Regions from separate parts of the Homo sapiens genome. Here regions 1 and 3 are each linked to region 2. Evidence: promoter capture Hi-C in 16 types of primary human blood cells and fetal thymus (Javierre and others, 2016). All regions are on one chromosome and are shown on one strand. The core of a region is centred on a gene start or on the middle of the fragment in contact, and the rest is flanking DNA. Distances in the headings are between cores, read along the strand shown. Region 1 overlaps LOC124904628 (a long non-coding RNA gene). Region 2 holds the start of PCP2 (Purkinje cell protein 2). Region 3 overlaps LOC124904628 (a long non-coding RNA gene).

The links. Contacts are between HindIII fragments. The CHiCAGO score rates a contact against its expected background, and 5 or more counts as called.
Region 1: a contact is called between a fragment that was not itself captured here and the fragment with the promoter of PCP2 in region 2, in 1 of 17 cell types (neutrophils). The highest score is 6.3, in neutrophils.
Region 3: a fragment that was not itself captured here is called in contact with the fragment with the promoter of PCP2 in region 2 in 1 of 17 cell types (monocytes); the score reaches 5.2 in monocytes.

What each region holds. Positions count from the first base shown.
Region 1 is chr19:7,801,390-7,805,843 of GRCh38, forward strand. All of the region lies in intron 1 of LOC124904628 (a long non-coding RNA gene), which reads left to right. Among named protein-coding and RNA genes, the nearest start is that of EVI5L, 27 kb to the right of the region's middle. The HindIII fragment of the contact is 7,100 bases long and covers 1-4,454 here.
Region 2 is chr19:7,631,170-7,635,881 of GRCh38, forward strand. It overlaps PCP2 (Purkinje cell protein 2), which reads right to left and starts at 2,550. Exons shown (of 4, transcript NM_174895.3): 1 at 2,238-2,550; 2 at 1,547-1,661; 3 at 1,224-1,348; 4 at 446-639. The coding sequence starts at 2,288. The coding sequence ends at 520. PET100 (PET100 cytochrome c oxidase chaperone) reads left to right here. Exons shown (of 4, transcript NM_001171155.2): 4 at 304-787. The coding sequence ends at 387. It also overlaps a transcript of STXBP2 not described here. The HindIII fragment of the contact is 15,856 bases long and covers 2,429-4,712 here.
Region 3 is chr19:7,817,004-7,821,713 of GRCh38, forward strand. It overlaps LOC124904628 (a long non-coding RNA gene), which reads left to right. Exons shown (of 2, transcript XR_007067118.1): 2 at 2,380-4,548. Among named protein-coding and RNA genes, the nearest start is that of EVI5L, 11 kb to the right of the region's middle. RefSeq lists an enhancer at 2,380-2,619. The HindIII fragment of the contact is 1,109 bases long and covers 2,360-3,468 here.

The sequences.
Region 1 (4,454 bases), core at 140-2,639, 170 kb after region 2:
AGGAGCTAGGATGTCTGGTCACGTTCCAACACTTCAAGGGAGTGTGTCAGCCCAGAGCATTCTGTGTAAAGCCGCAGAGCAGGTCATGCCCTCTGGCCTGGGAACTTAATGGCTTGCGGAGATGATTCTCCTAAGGGCCCCCTACAGTTTTCCATAGGTGTCCTACACAGGGGTGACTGACTAAACTGGCACCCCATAAACCTTTCCACCAGCACTTTTGTTTCAGGCTGCTGGCTCTGGTGAGCTCTTCTTTTTTGTTTTGTTTTATTTATTTATTTATTTATTTATTTACTTTATTTTTTTTGAGACACAGTCTCGCTGTCTCCCAGGCTGGAGTGCAGTGGCGTGATCTCAGCTCACTGCAAGCTCCACCTCCCAGGTTCAGGCCATTCTCCTGCCTCAGCCTCCGGAACAGCTGGGACTACAGGTGCCCACCAGCACGCCCAGCTAATTTTTTGTATTTTTAGTAGAGACGGGGTTTCACCATGTTAGCCAGGATGGTCTTGATCTCCTGACCTCGTGATCCACCCGCCTCAGCCTCCCAAAGTGCTGGGATTACAGGTGTGAGCCACCGCGCCTGGCCTCATTTATTTGTTTTTTAGATGGAGTCTCACTCTGTCACCCAGGCTGGAGTGCAGTGGCACAATCTCAGCTCACTGCATCCTCCACCTCCCAGGTTCAAGGGATTCTCGTGCCTCAGCCTCCCTGGTAGCTGGGATTATAGGTGTGTGTCACCATGCCCGGCTAGTTTTGTATTTAAAAATAGGCAGGATTAAAAAGTAGGTGGGGTTGATCCAACCATTATCTACATGATTGAACCCCACCTTCAGCCCCTTCCCCTTCCTGGAGGTCAGGTGGCTAAAAATCCCAACCTTGGTGGTTGGTGTTTCTGGCATGACCAGCCCCCATCCTGAGTCACCTCCTTGGTATAAGCTCAGTTATGGTCCAGGGCCCCCATGAATAATAAAGACGCTTCTTTTTTTTTTTTATTTCCATAGGTTTGGGGGAACATGTATTTGGTTACATGATTAAATTCCTTAGTGGTGATTCATGAGAGTTTGGTGCACCCATCTCCCAAGCAGTATACACTGCACCTAATTTGTAGTATTCTATCCGTCAGCTTTCCACCCTTTCCCCTTGAGCCCCCAAAATCCACTGTGTCATTCTTATGCCTTTGCATCCTCATAGCTTAGCTCCCACTTATGAGTGAGAGTATACAATGTTTGGTTTTCCATTCCTGAGTTCCTTCACTTAGAATAATGGTCTCCAGTCCCATCCAGGTTGCTGCAAATCCCATTAATTCATTCCGTTTCATGGCTGAGTAGTATTCCATTTTATATGTATGCCACAGTTTCTTCACCCATTCGTTGACTGATGGAAATTTAGGTTTGTTCCACGTTTTTGCACTTGCGAATTGTGCTGCTATAAACATGTGTGAACAAGTATCTTTTTTGTATCATGACTTCTTTTCCTCTGGATAGATACCCAGTAGTGGGATTGCTGGCTCAAATGGTAGTTTTACTTTTAGTTCTTTAAGGAATCTCCACGCTGTTTTCCATAGTGGTTGTACTAGTTTACATTCCCACCAGCAGTGTAAAAGTGTTCCCTGTTTGCCACATCCACACCAACATCTATTATTTTTTGAGTCTTTGATTATGGCCATTCTTGCAGGAGTAAGGTGGTATCACATTGTGGTTTTGATTTGCATCTCCCTGATCATTAGTGATGTTGAGCATTTTTCCATATGTTTGTTGGCCATTAAGACACTTCTATTACTTGGAAAATTCCAAGAGTTTAGACGCCCCCTGCCAGGAACCAGAGGTAGTGACTAGACAGATTATTTAGCACACAATATCTTTCTATCTTAAAATCGCAATCATATCTGCAAAGTCTCTTTTTGCCATATAAGGTGACATTCATAGGATCCAGGGATTAGGACTTGGATATCTTTTTTTTTTTTTTTTTTGAGAAGGAGTTTCACTCTTGTTGCCCAGGTTGGAGTGCAATGGCATGATCTCAACTCACTGCAACCTCCACCTCCCAGGTTCAAGTGATTCTCCTGTCTCAGCCTCCTGAGTAGCTGGGATTACAGACATGCACCACCACACCTGGCTAACTTTGTATTTTTAGTAGAGACAGAGTTTCACCATCTTGGTCAGGCCGGTCTCGAACTCCCGACCTCAGGTGATCCGCCCGCCTCAGCCTCCCAAACTGCTGGGATTACACATGTGAGCCACCATGCCTGGCCAGGACTTGGATATCTTTGCAGGCCATCATGCATCCTAGCTCAAAGAGTAACTAGCTGAGAAAGACTCCCAGGTGGGGGATGGAAGTCGAAATGCGTACCTGGTGGCCTAACTGCTTGCTGAGCTGGGTTAAGTGGCAATTTGGAAGATCCACAGACAGATCTAGTCTAACTTACTGATGATCAAGTGGAGATCTCTGACTCACTGAACAGCAACAGAGACGAACTGACAGGATTGACTTCCAGGCTGACTGACAACCTCAACGGCAGAGCCTCTTCCAGGTTGTAGTGACAAATGTACAATGGAAGCACAGGTGGACAGGAGAAGCCCAGGAGTCTCTTCCTGGGGGTGGAGCTGAGTAAGTACCGGCTGTGGCTGGGGCAGAAGGAAGAGGCCCCCAGGTTAAGCTGGAACTTCCCCAGGATCCTGTCCATGGCTCACGCATGCCCTCGAGCCCCTGGTACTCCAGGCTTAGATGCTGGGGCAGCAGGGCTGGAGGGAACCTCAGGGCAGGAGCCCAGAGAGCCAAATAACTGGATTCAAAGGGTCCATCCTCCCTTCACCATTGGCCTCAGGCATACCTGATCAATGCACAGGTCCCAGCTTGCAGTCTCCTGGCTCTAACTGGCTGGTGTTAGAGCAGATCCATAAAGACCCCAAATAAGAGAGTCAGGACCAAATTGTCCTCCCTGGCCCTTGGCCCCAGCCCACCCCCCTGCCCCACTCCCCAACACACAAGAGTCAACCTTCCAGGGAAGAAAGGAATCCCTGGAGCCTATCCCTCATCCTAGAACAGATATTCAGTCAGCTTTTATGGTCCTGGAATATTGGTCTTGCTAGAAAGACTATTCTAAATGCCAACAGCTGGCCGAGTGTGATGGCTCATGCCTGTAATCCCAACACTTTGGAAAGCTAAAGTCAGTGGATCACTTGAGCCCAGGGGCTCAAGCTCAGCCTGGGCAACATAGTGAGACCCTGTCACTATAAAAATAGTTTTTTTTGAGGTGGAGTCTCGCTCTGTCGCCCAGGCTGGAGTGCAATGGCGTGATCTCGGCTTACTGCAACCTCTGCCTCCTGGGTTCAAGCGATTCTCCTGCCTCAGCCTCTTGAGTAGCTGGGATTACAGGCACACCCCACCACACCTGGCTAATTTTTGTATTTTTAGTAGAGACAGGGTTTCACCATGTTGGTCAGGCTGGTTTCGAACTCCTGACCTCAGGTGATCCACCTGTCTCAGCCTCCCAAAGTGCTGGGATTACAGGCATGAGCCACTGTGCCAGGCCTGTTAAATGACTTTTCTAAACTACTTCTGTAAAGTCTATATTCTCTGTCATGGCTACTGAAGTCTTTGCTCAGTTAGCTTCATGGTTAGCTAGTGGTTGGACAGAGATTTCCTTGAATGTCTGGAATCGGAAGTCTGCCAGTCTTTGCCAGGGAGCTCTGTGTACTTATTAGGGACACACCTTCAACATTCACCCAGGAAATTTACAACTGTGCTTTAGCTCTCACTTCCTGCTTACACAGAGCCTCGAAGTCGGCCAGCGGTGTGAGCTTAGGGCTGTCTCAGGTCTTTCCTAAGCATGTGGCCTTCCATATCCCCAGAAATATGTCAGAATTTTTCAAAAGTCCCTCCGAACATCTAATGTCTTCATTTTTCCTTCTAAGATTTTTTTTTTTTTTTTTTTTGAGACGGAGTCTCGCTCTGTGGCTCAGGCTGGAGTGCAGTGGCGCGATCTCGGCTCACTGCCAGCTCCGCCTCCTGGGTTCACACCATTCTCCTGGCTTGGACTACAGGCGCCCGCCACCACACCCGGCTAATTTTTTGTATTTTCAGTAGAGACGGGGTTTCACCGTGTTAGCCAGGATGGTCTCGATCTCCTGACCTCAAGTGATCCTCCCGCCTCGACCTCCCAAAGTGCTGGGATTACAGGCGTGAACCACCGCGCCTGGCGCTTTTCCTTCTAAGATTTTTAGTTAGGCTATTATTTCCCCAACTGTTAAGTATTGCCACAGGCAGCTGCAATGTTAAAACATTTAACAAATAGCCCCTGGGGAGAAATGTTTAGCATCCGGCAAGTTCAAGTGAGGTCAGGTCTTTCAGAGCAGGGTCTTCCAGAGTACCAATAAATAGGTCAATAAATGACTCTTCTTGGCTGGGTGCGGCGGCTCACGCTTGTAATCCCGGCACTTTGGGAGGCCGAGGTGGGT
Region 2 (4,712 bases), core at 1,300-3,799:
CTGCACTCCAGCCTGGGCAATAGAGTGAGACTTTGTCTCAAAAAGAAACATTTTACTCTCAGCCATGAGTAAGGAACCGAGAGCAGAGGAGTAGATGGTTTCCTTATTGCCTTCTCCTGGAAGAGTGAAGCGGATCCCACGCGGACCCCTTTGTAATTGGCAGGGGGCTTCCAGTGAAGACACTGAACCCTGAAGCCGTGGTCTGGGGCAGGGTGGTGGGAGAGGTGGGCGGGGGGGGGTGGTCCCGGCTCTGAGGTGTGTGCCCCTCCCCCCTTCCTGTCCCACCCGCTTCTCCACCCCTAGCTTCAAGAGATAGAGGAATTCAAAGAGAGGTTACGGAAGCGGCGGGAGGAGAAGCTCCTTCGCGACGCCCAGCAGAACTCCTGAGGCCTCCAAGTGGGAGTCCTAGCCCCTCCCCTGATGAAATATACATATACTCAGTTCCTTGTTATTCATTTAAGTGTTTTATTCTTTTATCAGTTTTTGGGGGCCGAGTGAGACCCAGGATGCCTCAGGCCCTCAGGGGGCTTGTGTCGGGGGCTGGGGGCTGCTGTTCCGACGGAAGCCGAGAGCGGTCGGGTCCTGAGGGGTGAGCAGGGGTTGGGGACTGAGGGTCCCAGCTCGTTTCTGTGCTCCGTCCTGTGGATGAAGAGGGGTCAGCCAGGGGGAGGGCTCAAGGGCAGTGCCGGCCACAGGTGGCGAACAATGGAGAGAGGGTGCAGGTAGCCACCGTGTCCCACCTCATTGTGAGCACTGGTCTATGTTTACCCTCAATATCTGCCATTTAGGGTGGCATTTGAGTGTGAGGTGGCAGGTCTTGGGGCCCTCGCTGGGATCTTGATCAGAACCCAAGCTTCGTGTATGTGTGAAGTCAACAGATGTGAGTATACAGATGTATATATCCTATGTGTGAGCTTACGTGACTTCCTCCCTGGGATACTTTCCTAGGAAGGGGTCCTATTTTCTCCCTTTGGCCTCCCCAGAACCTTCAGACTTGGGGGCAGGAGCCACAAGTTCCAGCCATGGGTCTTACACTAGCATGGCCCCTGTATAACCTTGGGCCCCTCTAGCCACTGCCTGGGCCTTGGTCCTCCCATCTGAAGTCAGGGCAGCGGATGGACAGAGATGGGGCAGGCCCTGTTCCCTCCTGGCTGGGGTGGAGGGCAGGATCGGAGAGCACTGCCTGGCGGGTTTCTCCTCGACATCGCCAGAACATCACCTACCTTGGACCCCACGGGCTGGAAGCCGGGCAGGCTGCTGACTGTCACACGTTGGTCATCCATGCGGCGGCCCTGGGTACTGGCCAGCATGTCCATGAGGCTGTCCATCTCGGGGGTGGGGTCGCTCTCTGCGTGGACGTTCACAGACTTGGGAGGACACAGCCGGAGTGGGGGCCCCCAACCCTACCCCTTCACCCCCACACAGATGCTTCAGGGTGCACAACCACCTCCCACATCCCGTGCCCCCAGGCCCTCCAGATGACCACTTGCCCTGCACTCCCACCCCGTTCACGCCCCATGGACAGCACCCCCGTGCCCATGCTCACGGCTCTTGGTGGTCTGGCCCGGCCCGGCTTGCAGTGAACAGCGCTGTCCCTCCATCCGGTCGCCCTGCACGTGGCTCAGCAGATTGAAGAAGCCCTCCTGGTCTGGGGAGCCCGCCTGGGGACAGACTCGCTCAGTCTGGTTGGCCCTTCAGCTTGGGGGCCCCTCCCCAAACTTCCTAGCCAGCTTGCTCACACCCTGACCCCGGGGCCTGCCGTCCCCACTTCCTCAGCTCTCACCATGGTCCCCGCCGATCCTCTCTGCAGAGCTGTTCTGAATGAGACATGAGTCTCCTTCCCAATCCCGGCCCCCGCCCCAGGGGCCCTGGCCAGCAGTGCCACTTCACGTGGTACCGCTTCAAGGGACAGGCTCCGATGCGTGTCCCGCCGTCCTAGATTGGGGCCTGATGAGTGTGGCCTGGGAGCTGGGACACGAATCAGGGAAACATGGCCCAGGAGCTACCCCCAGGTCCCAGCATCTCCCATCAATAGGGGTCCACACGGAGAGCCCTGCCCTCTGCCCTGGGGCCTGGCACTCAGACCCCCAAGCCCACCAGCCCCTTTCTACAGCCACAACTGGGTCAGGGGGTCCTAGGAGACTCACTCGTTAATTAGGTGCCCTACAAACTAGTCTTGTCAATCATGGGCTCTGAGACCTTGAGCTGGGGGTGGGGTGGGGGCAGGGCCCTCTCACCTCGGCACAGGGGCCTGAGCCTTCCTCCGTCTTCTCCTCCTGATCCATCATGTCCCTGGACTCCAGTCACTTTTCTGCTGGCCTCTGCCCCGGCCCAGTGCCAGAGAGGGCCTTTTAAACGTCCAGGACGTGGGGGTGTGGATTCCCCCCATCCCCAAATCCCCAGCTCATGCCCCATCTGCTCCCACCCAAGCTTAAGCCCCATAAAGATCATCCAGATAATTGTTTGCCCACAACGATGCTGGATCTGGCATGGTGGGTAGGGGGCAGGGCGACCTGAGCTTGGACCTCGCTGTGCCCAGCAGCAATGACTGGACCCCAGGGACTCTCAGGTGTGATGTCACAAAAGGCCTGAGCAGCATCCCCACAGTTGGAGAAGGGAGGCCAACAGTGTAGGGTGGTAGCTGGCTTAGGGAGGACTTGCAGGTGTCCCCACCCAGCCACCCAGGTTCCCCCACTGGCTCCTGAAAGGGCAGCTGCCACCTGCAGTCGGTACAGAAAAAGGAGGTTGGAGTCAAAGGCCCCTTCCCTCCCTCCCTCTCTGCACCTGCCTCAGACACCACCGGCCACCCTAGCTCCAGCTCTGTCTCCTTGGCAGCAAGTCAAGGGGTCTCCCAGCCACCCTTCCTTCAACTCACTGTCCCTGGAGCCTGGTTGCCTGCCCCAGACCCCAAAACAAGAAAGTCTGGGGTCTCCTGTTCCCACACCACCTAAATGCCAGGTTGAGCTATCTCCTCTCCTCTATCACCCTAGCCCCAGGTGGGAACAGGAGGCGAGACTCCCTGGGGACAGAGGCAGGCGGGGAGAGGACGTCCCTGCCTTTTCCCCCGAGCCACTGTGGCTTTCCCTCAGTGCCCAAGCAGGGGATACCACTGGGAGGTCCCCATCCCCTTCCCTTCCCTCCCCAAGACGCCTTTACGGAAACCAGTGGAAGTTTCATCTCAGAATGAATGGGCTGCACTATCACCACCTCTGCCCGAGCCTCCTCTGTTCCACAAAAGGCCAAGTTCACACTCTCTCCCTCTATGCCAATGAAGTGTCCCCCTCCTCAGTACGTGTATCCCTTTCCTAGGCCTGCCAGAACAAAGTGTCATAGACCAGATGGCTTAAAACACATAAGTTGACTTTTGTTATATATTTTTATATAGAGATGAGGTCTCACTATTTTGCCCAGGCTAGTCTCAAACTCCTGGGTTCATGTGATCCTCCTGCCTGGGCCTCCCAAAGTGCTGGGATTACAGGCATGAGCCACCATGCTGAGCCTTTAAAATTTTTTTTTAACAAATTTATTGAGCCAACGTTCCAGAGGCCACAGCCTGAAATGAAGGTGTTGGCAGAGCTGTGCTCCCTCTGAAAACCAGGTCTCAGGAGCCCTCCTTGCCCCTCCCTGGCTTTTGGCAGTGGCCTGCCGTCCTTGATGTCCTTGGCTTGTCACTGCAGCTCTTCACTCCCTGCCTCCGTGGTCACATGGCATTCTCCCTCTGTGTCCCAGTCTTCATATACCCATTTCCCCACCCCCCCAACCACCTACACAGAACCAGGCAGACATATAACTATCTTACAAGGACACCAGTGATATTGCATTAGGGGCCTACTCTACTCCAGTGTGACCTCATGCTCACTGCTAATATCTATACTAACCCCATTTCAAATAAGATCCTATTGTGGGGTATTGGGGATTAGTACTTCATATCTTTTGGGGGTTAGTGGTGGGGTGGCTGGCCCTAACAGCTCTCTGTCCCCCCAAGGGGTCAGGCTGAGAAGCTGGAGGCGGTCCTGGCTTCCATCCCCCCAGGATCTGGAGGGTTCCCCGCCTTCCCCTGCTCAAAACTCTTGAGAAGACAAAACCCAAACACCTAGGGGTTGTGGAAATGTTCTAAAATGGATTGTGGTAATGGACACACAACTCCAAAAATACTGAAAGCCATTGACTTACGCACCTTAGGTCAGCGAGTTGTATGGTATGTGAATTATATCTCAGTAAAGCTGTTACAAAAGGAGGAAGGGGCAGGGTGCGGTGGCTCATACCTAAAATCCTAACACTTTGGGAGGCCAAGGCAGGAGGATCCCTTGAGCCCAGGAGTTTGATACCAGCCTGGGCAACATAGGGAGATCCTGTCTCTTAACAACAACAACAAAATCAACCGGGCACGGTGGCGTGCACCTGTAGTCCCAGCTACTTGGGTGGCCGAAGTGGAAGAATCCCTTGAGCTCAGGAAGTCGAGGCTGCAGTGAGCTATGATCGTGCCACTGCCCTCCAGCCTGAGCAACAGAGCGAGACCCGTCTCTTTACAAAACAAAAACAAACAAAAATGGGGAGGAGGGAGAAGAAGGAAGAAAGGAAGGGAAAAGGAAAGGAAAGGAAGAAATAGCTCAAACTCCTACCTACGGTTGCCAACCGTCCTGGTTTGCCTGTGACTGTCCTATTTTTAGCACTGAAAGTCCTGCATCCTGGCACTGGGATGGGTCAGTCTG
Region 3 (4,710 bases), core at 1,664-4,163, 190 kb after region 2:
AGGTTACACTGGGTAGCAAAGTCAGAGGAAGGAGCCAAGGCAGGAACTAAGTGAGAAACCAACCAAGTTCCAATCAGCCAAGAGTGAAAGTCCAAACTGGTTGTAGAAACTAAATGGCCATGGCTGGGTGCAGCGGCTCATGCCTGTAATCCCAGCACTTTGGGAGGCCAAGGCGAGTGGATCTCTTGAGTTTAGGAGTTTGAGACCAGCCTGGGGAACATGGTGAAACCTCATCTCTACTAAAAATACAAAAATTAGCTAGGCATGGTGGTGCATGCCTGTAGTTCCAGCTACTCAGGAGGCTGAGGTGGAAGGATGGCTTGAGCCTGGGAGGTGGAGGTTGCAGCAAGCTAAGATTGTGCCACTGTACTCCAGCCTGTGTGACACCATGAGGCCCTGTCTCAAAAAAAAAAGAAAAAAGAAAGAAACTAAATGGCCACAAGGTAGGGTATGGAGACAACCAGGGTGAGCCCATAAAACTATCTGGGCCTGGTGCCTTTCTTCTTATTAGATCTCTAATTACCTTCTTTTCAGCTGTTTTCAAATTGCCAAAGCATCCACAAAGTTGCCAGATCTAGTCAGCCTGCAAGCTGACCACAGATGGGCTCCTATAATATCTAATCTGTTCAGGTTTCCTATTTCAGATGATTTGTATCACTCTGTGATTAATTTCCAAATTATTACTATGTTTGTTTCAACTCCGCCTCCCCCCACCCCACACCTAATAGTTATTGATTGCCACAAACAAATTGCCACAAATGGCCCAGCTTAAACAACATACATTTATTATTTTATAGTTTTTATGGGTCAGGAATCTGGGCATGACTTGCCTGGATCCTTTGCCTGGGGTCTCTCATAAGACGGCAATCAAGGAGATGGCCAGGATTAAGGTTTCATCTGAAGGCTCAACTGGGGAAGGATTCACTTCCTAGCTCACTCATGTGACTGTTGGCAGAATCAGTTCCTTTTGTGCTGTTGGGCAAATTATCTCAGTTCCTAGCTGGCTGTTGGCCAGAGGACACCCTCAGCTTATTGCCACATGGGTTTCTCCAACATAGCAACTTGCTTCATCAAAGCCATCAAGGGGAAAAGTCTGCTAGCAAGATAGAAGTCAGAATATTTTGGAATATAATCTCAGAAGTGACAGTTTCTCAATGATGAAGTATTCTATTGGTTAGAAGCAAGATAATCACCAGTAGAGGATCACAGAAGGCCATGAATACTAGGAGGTGGGGACCATTTCAGAAGCTACTTACTACACCCCACCAGCATATAAATATATAAGTCTATTAGAGCAGGAACACTTTGGTTCATGTTAACCATCACTTCTCCAGTGTTTTAATGAGTGAATGGAGGCTGGGCATAGTGGCTCACACCTGTAATCCCAGCACTTTGGGAGGCTGAGGCAGGTGGATCACCTGAGGTCAGGAGTTCAAGACCAGCCTGGGCAACATGGTGAAACCCTGTCTCTATTAAAAATACAAAAATTAGCCAGACATGGTGGCGTGCACCTGTAATCCCAGCTACTCAGGAGGCTGAGACACAAGAATCACTTGAACCTAGGAGGCAGAGGTTGCAGTGAGCTGAGATCATGCCATTACACTCCAGCCTGTGTGACAGAGTGAGACTCTGTCTCAAAAAACAAACTGAAAAAAGAGTGAATGGCATATAGTAGGTGATAAATTAATATTGGTGAAATGAAAGATTCAATGGGGTAAGCTATGTGGTCTTAGAGTGGAATAGCTAGAGATTGCTTCAATTCAACAATTTTTTATTACGTTCAGGAATTCTATTCACAGAATAGTCAAGGAGCAGTGGATGGGTGTAATTGTCATGACAGGTAAAACCAGGGGTGATAAACTGTGGGGTGAACACAGACATAGAAGAGTCACTGGATAAATCTGCTGGCTTGCATCACTGTGTAGGGGTCCTGGATGTGGTCGGCCAATATTAGGCTTAGTGAGTATGCTTGTAGGCATACACCTACAAGGATGTATCAGTTCGCTATTGCTGCATAACAAAATGCTCCCAAAATTAATGGCTTGGGCTAATAATTTATTTGGTACATGATTGTGTGGTTCACCAATTTGGGTCAGATTCAGCTGGAAAGTTCTTCTGGGTATAGCTGGGCTCATTTATGCATCTGTGGTCAGCTGATGGATTGGCTAAATCTGGCTACTCTTGAATGCTTTGGCAACTTGAAAATGTAGCTGAAAATACTTTAACAAAGCTCTTCTTGAGAGGCAAACTCACTATCCCCTCCCCTTGAATCTGAGCAGGCTTGGATTGCTTCAACCAATAGAGTAGAGCAGAAGTGATATTATATAACCTCCAAGGCTAGATCATAACACATCATGCAAGCTTCTGTCTTGTTTGCAGGAAGATTCACTTCCAGAGCCTTGAGACAACATGTAAAAAGTTCAACTACCCTGAGACTGCAGTGATGGAGATGTCATGTGGAGAGACCACATGGAAAGTCCCTGAAGCTACAGGAGGAGAGCGAGAGAGAGAGAGAAAGAGATCGATCCCCCAAGAGACTTCAATCATTTGAGTCATCCCAGCCCAGGAACCAGACATGTGAATGAAGAAGCTACCAGATAATCCCAGCCACCAGATACCAGCTCCCAGCCACTGGAGGCACTCCCCCACTCTTCAAGTCTCCCCACCTTAAGCCCTAGATGTCATGGATCAGAGACAAACCATCCCCACTATGCCCTGTCCAAACTTCAGACCCACAAAAACCATGAGCATATTAAAAATGATTGCTGTTTTATGCCACTGAGTTCTCGGATGGTTTCTTACACAGCAATCGAAAACTGGAACACGGCTGGGTGCAGTGGCTCATGACTGTAATCCCGGCACTTTGGGAGGCTGAGACAGGTGGATCACCTGAGGTCAGGAGTTCAAGACCAGCCTGGCCAACATGGTGAAACCCCATCTCTACTAAAAAAAATACAAAAAATTAGCCAGGCGTGGTGGCGTGAGCCTGTAATCCCAGCTACTTGGGAGGCTGAGGCAGCAGAATTGCTTGAACCCGGGAGGCAGAGATGGCATTGAGCCAAGACCACACCATTGCACTCTAGCCTGGGCAATGAGACAGAAGCTGCATCTCAAAAAAAAAAAAGAAAGAAAGAAAGAAAAAAGAAAAGAAGAAAGGAAACTGGAACAGATAACCTCACTCACAGCTGGAGGTTGGTCGGCTGACAGTTTAGGCCATGAGGGTGACTGAGCCATGTGCCTCTCACCTTTCAGGCTACCTCTGGCTTGTTCACATGATGGTTAAGAGTGGCAAGATCAGTGCAAAATGACAAAGTAGACAGTTCCAAGCCCGCGTTCCCCACAGAAACATCAAAAAACAAGCAGAAACTGTCAGATACAACTTTGTCAGAACTCTGGGAAACAGTCAAAGGTTTACGGTAGTCCAGTGAATGCTGAATCAAGAAGAAAGACAACTTCAAAATGATCAAAAGCTTTTGATATTTCGACTTGCGTTTGCCCCACTTGCCACTGCCCTCCCTTGTGTGACAGCAGTAGTGGGAAGAGGGAAGCCCACACTCCCAGCATGAGACTCTCATTCCTCCTTCCAGAGGGAGCAGAGCAGACTTTATTTGTAGATGATAGTGTATGTCCGCTCTAAGCTGTCTGGGAGCCACCTGAAGGACAAGGTGCTCATCTCTGGTCTTCCTGCCTCGGAACTCAGGCTGGAAAAGTGGTGGCACTGCTCAAAAACACTGCAAGCCAAACTAACAAACCACAGATGTCTGTTCCAAAGATTACAATCAAAACACACAATAGACGGCCTAAGGCTCAGGAGCAAAAGCTGGGGAGAGTTTCCTGGGGAAATTAGAAGCACCTGCATGCATAGGGGGATTTATAAACACAGGGTTATGCCCACAGCAAGATGCATGCTCAGAAAAGACCTGAGAAGACCCTAAGTTATGCTCAGCTGATCCCTAGGCTCAGGGCAAGCTGGGTTAAATGTTGAAAGAGTGCTCCAGCACAGGGCCAATCTGCAAAGACTGAGCGAGGGAAAGATTTTTTGTTTGGTTGGTTTGCTTGCTTTTTTAGCTCCTGGTATTCAAGAAAATCTGTCAAAACACTAGCTGAACACAAGCTAAGGAATAGAGACTTCAGTGACCACATGCGACAAGTAATATAGTCTTTGCAAGAATAGTTTTGGAAAGTCATTAAGCCAAAACTACTACGGTCTTTAACAATAAAACAAACAACAAACCAGCAAACCCTGGGACAGTGGGAGAATCTGACATCCAAATTTATCACATTACAAATATTCAAATGTCCAGTTTTTAACAAGAAAAATCACAAGGTATACAGAGAAAAAGGAAATTATGGCCCATTGAAAGGGGAAAAAAAATAACAAATTGAAAGGAATTATTCCTGAGAAAGTCCAGATCTGAGACTTACTAGACAAAGACTTTAAAATAATTGTCTTAAATATGCTCAAAGAGCTAAGGGAAAACATGGACAAAAATCTAAAGGAAACCAGGAAAACAATGTATGAATAAAATGAGACTATCAATAAAGAAATGGCCAGGCGTGGTGGCTCATGCCTATAATCCCAGCACCTTAGGAGGCTGAGTTGGGTGGATCACTTGAGGTCAGGAGTTCGAGACCAGCCTGGCCAACGTGGGGAAACCTCATCTCTACTGAAAATATAAAAATTAGCTGGTCATTGTGGCAGGCACCTGT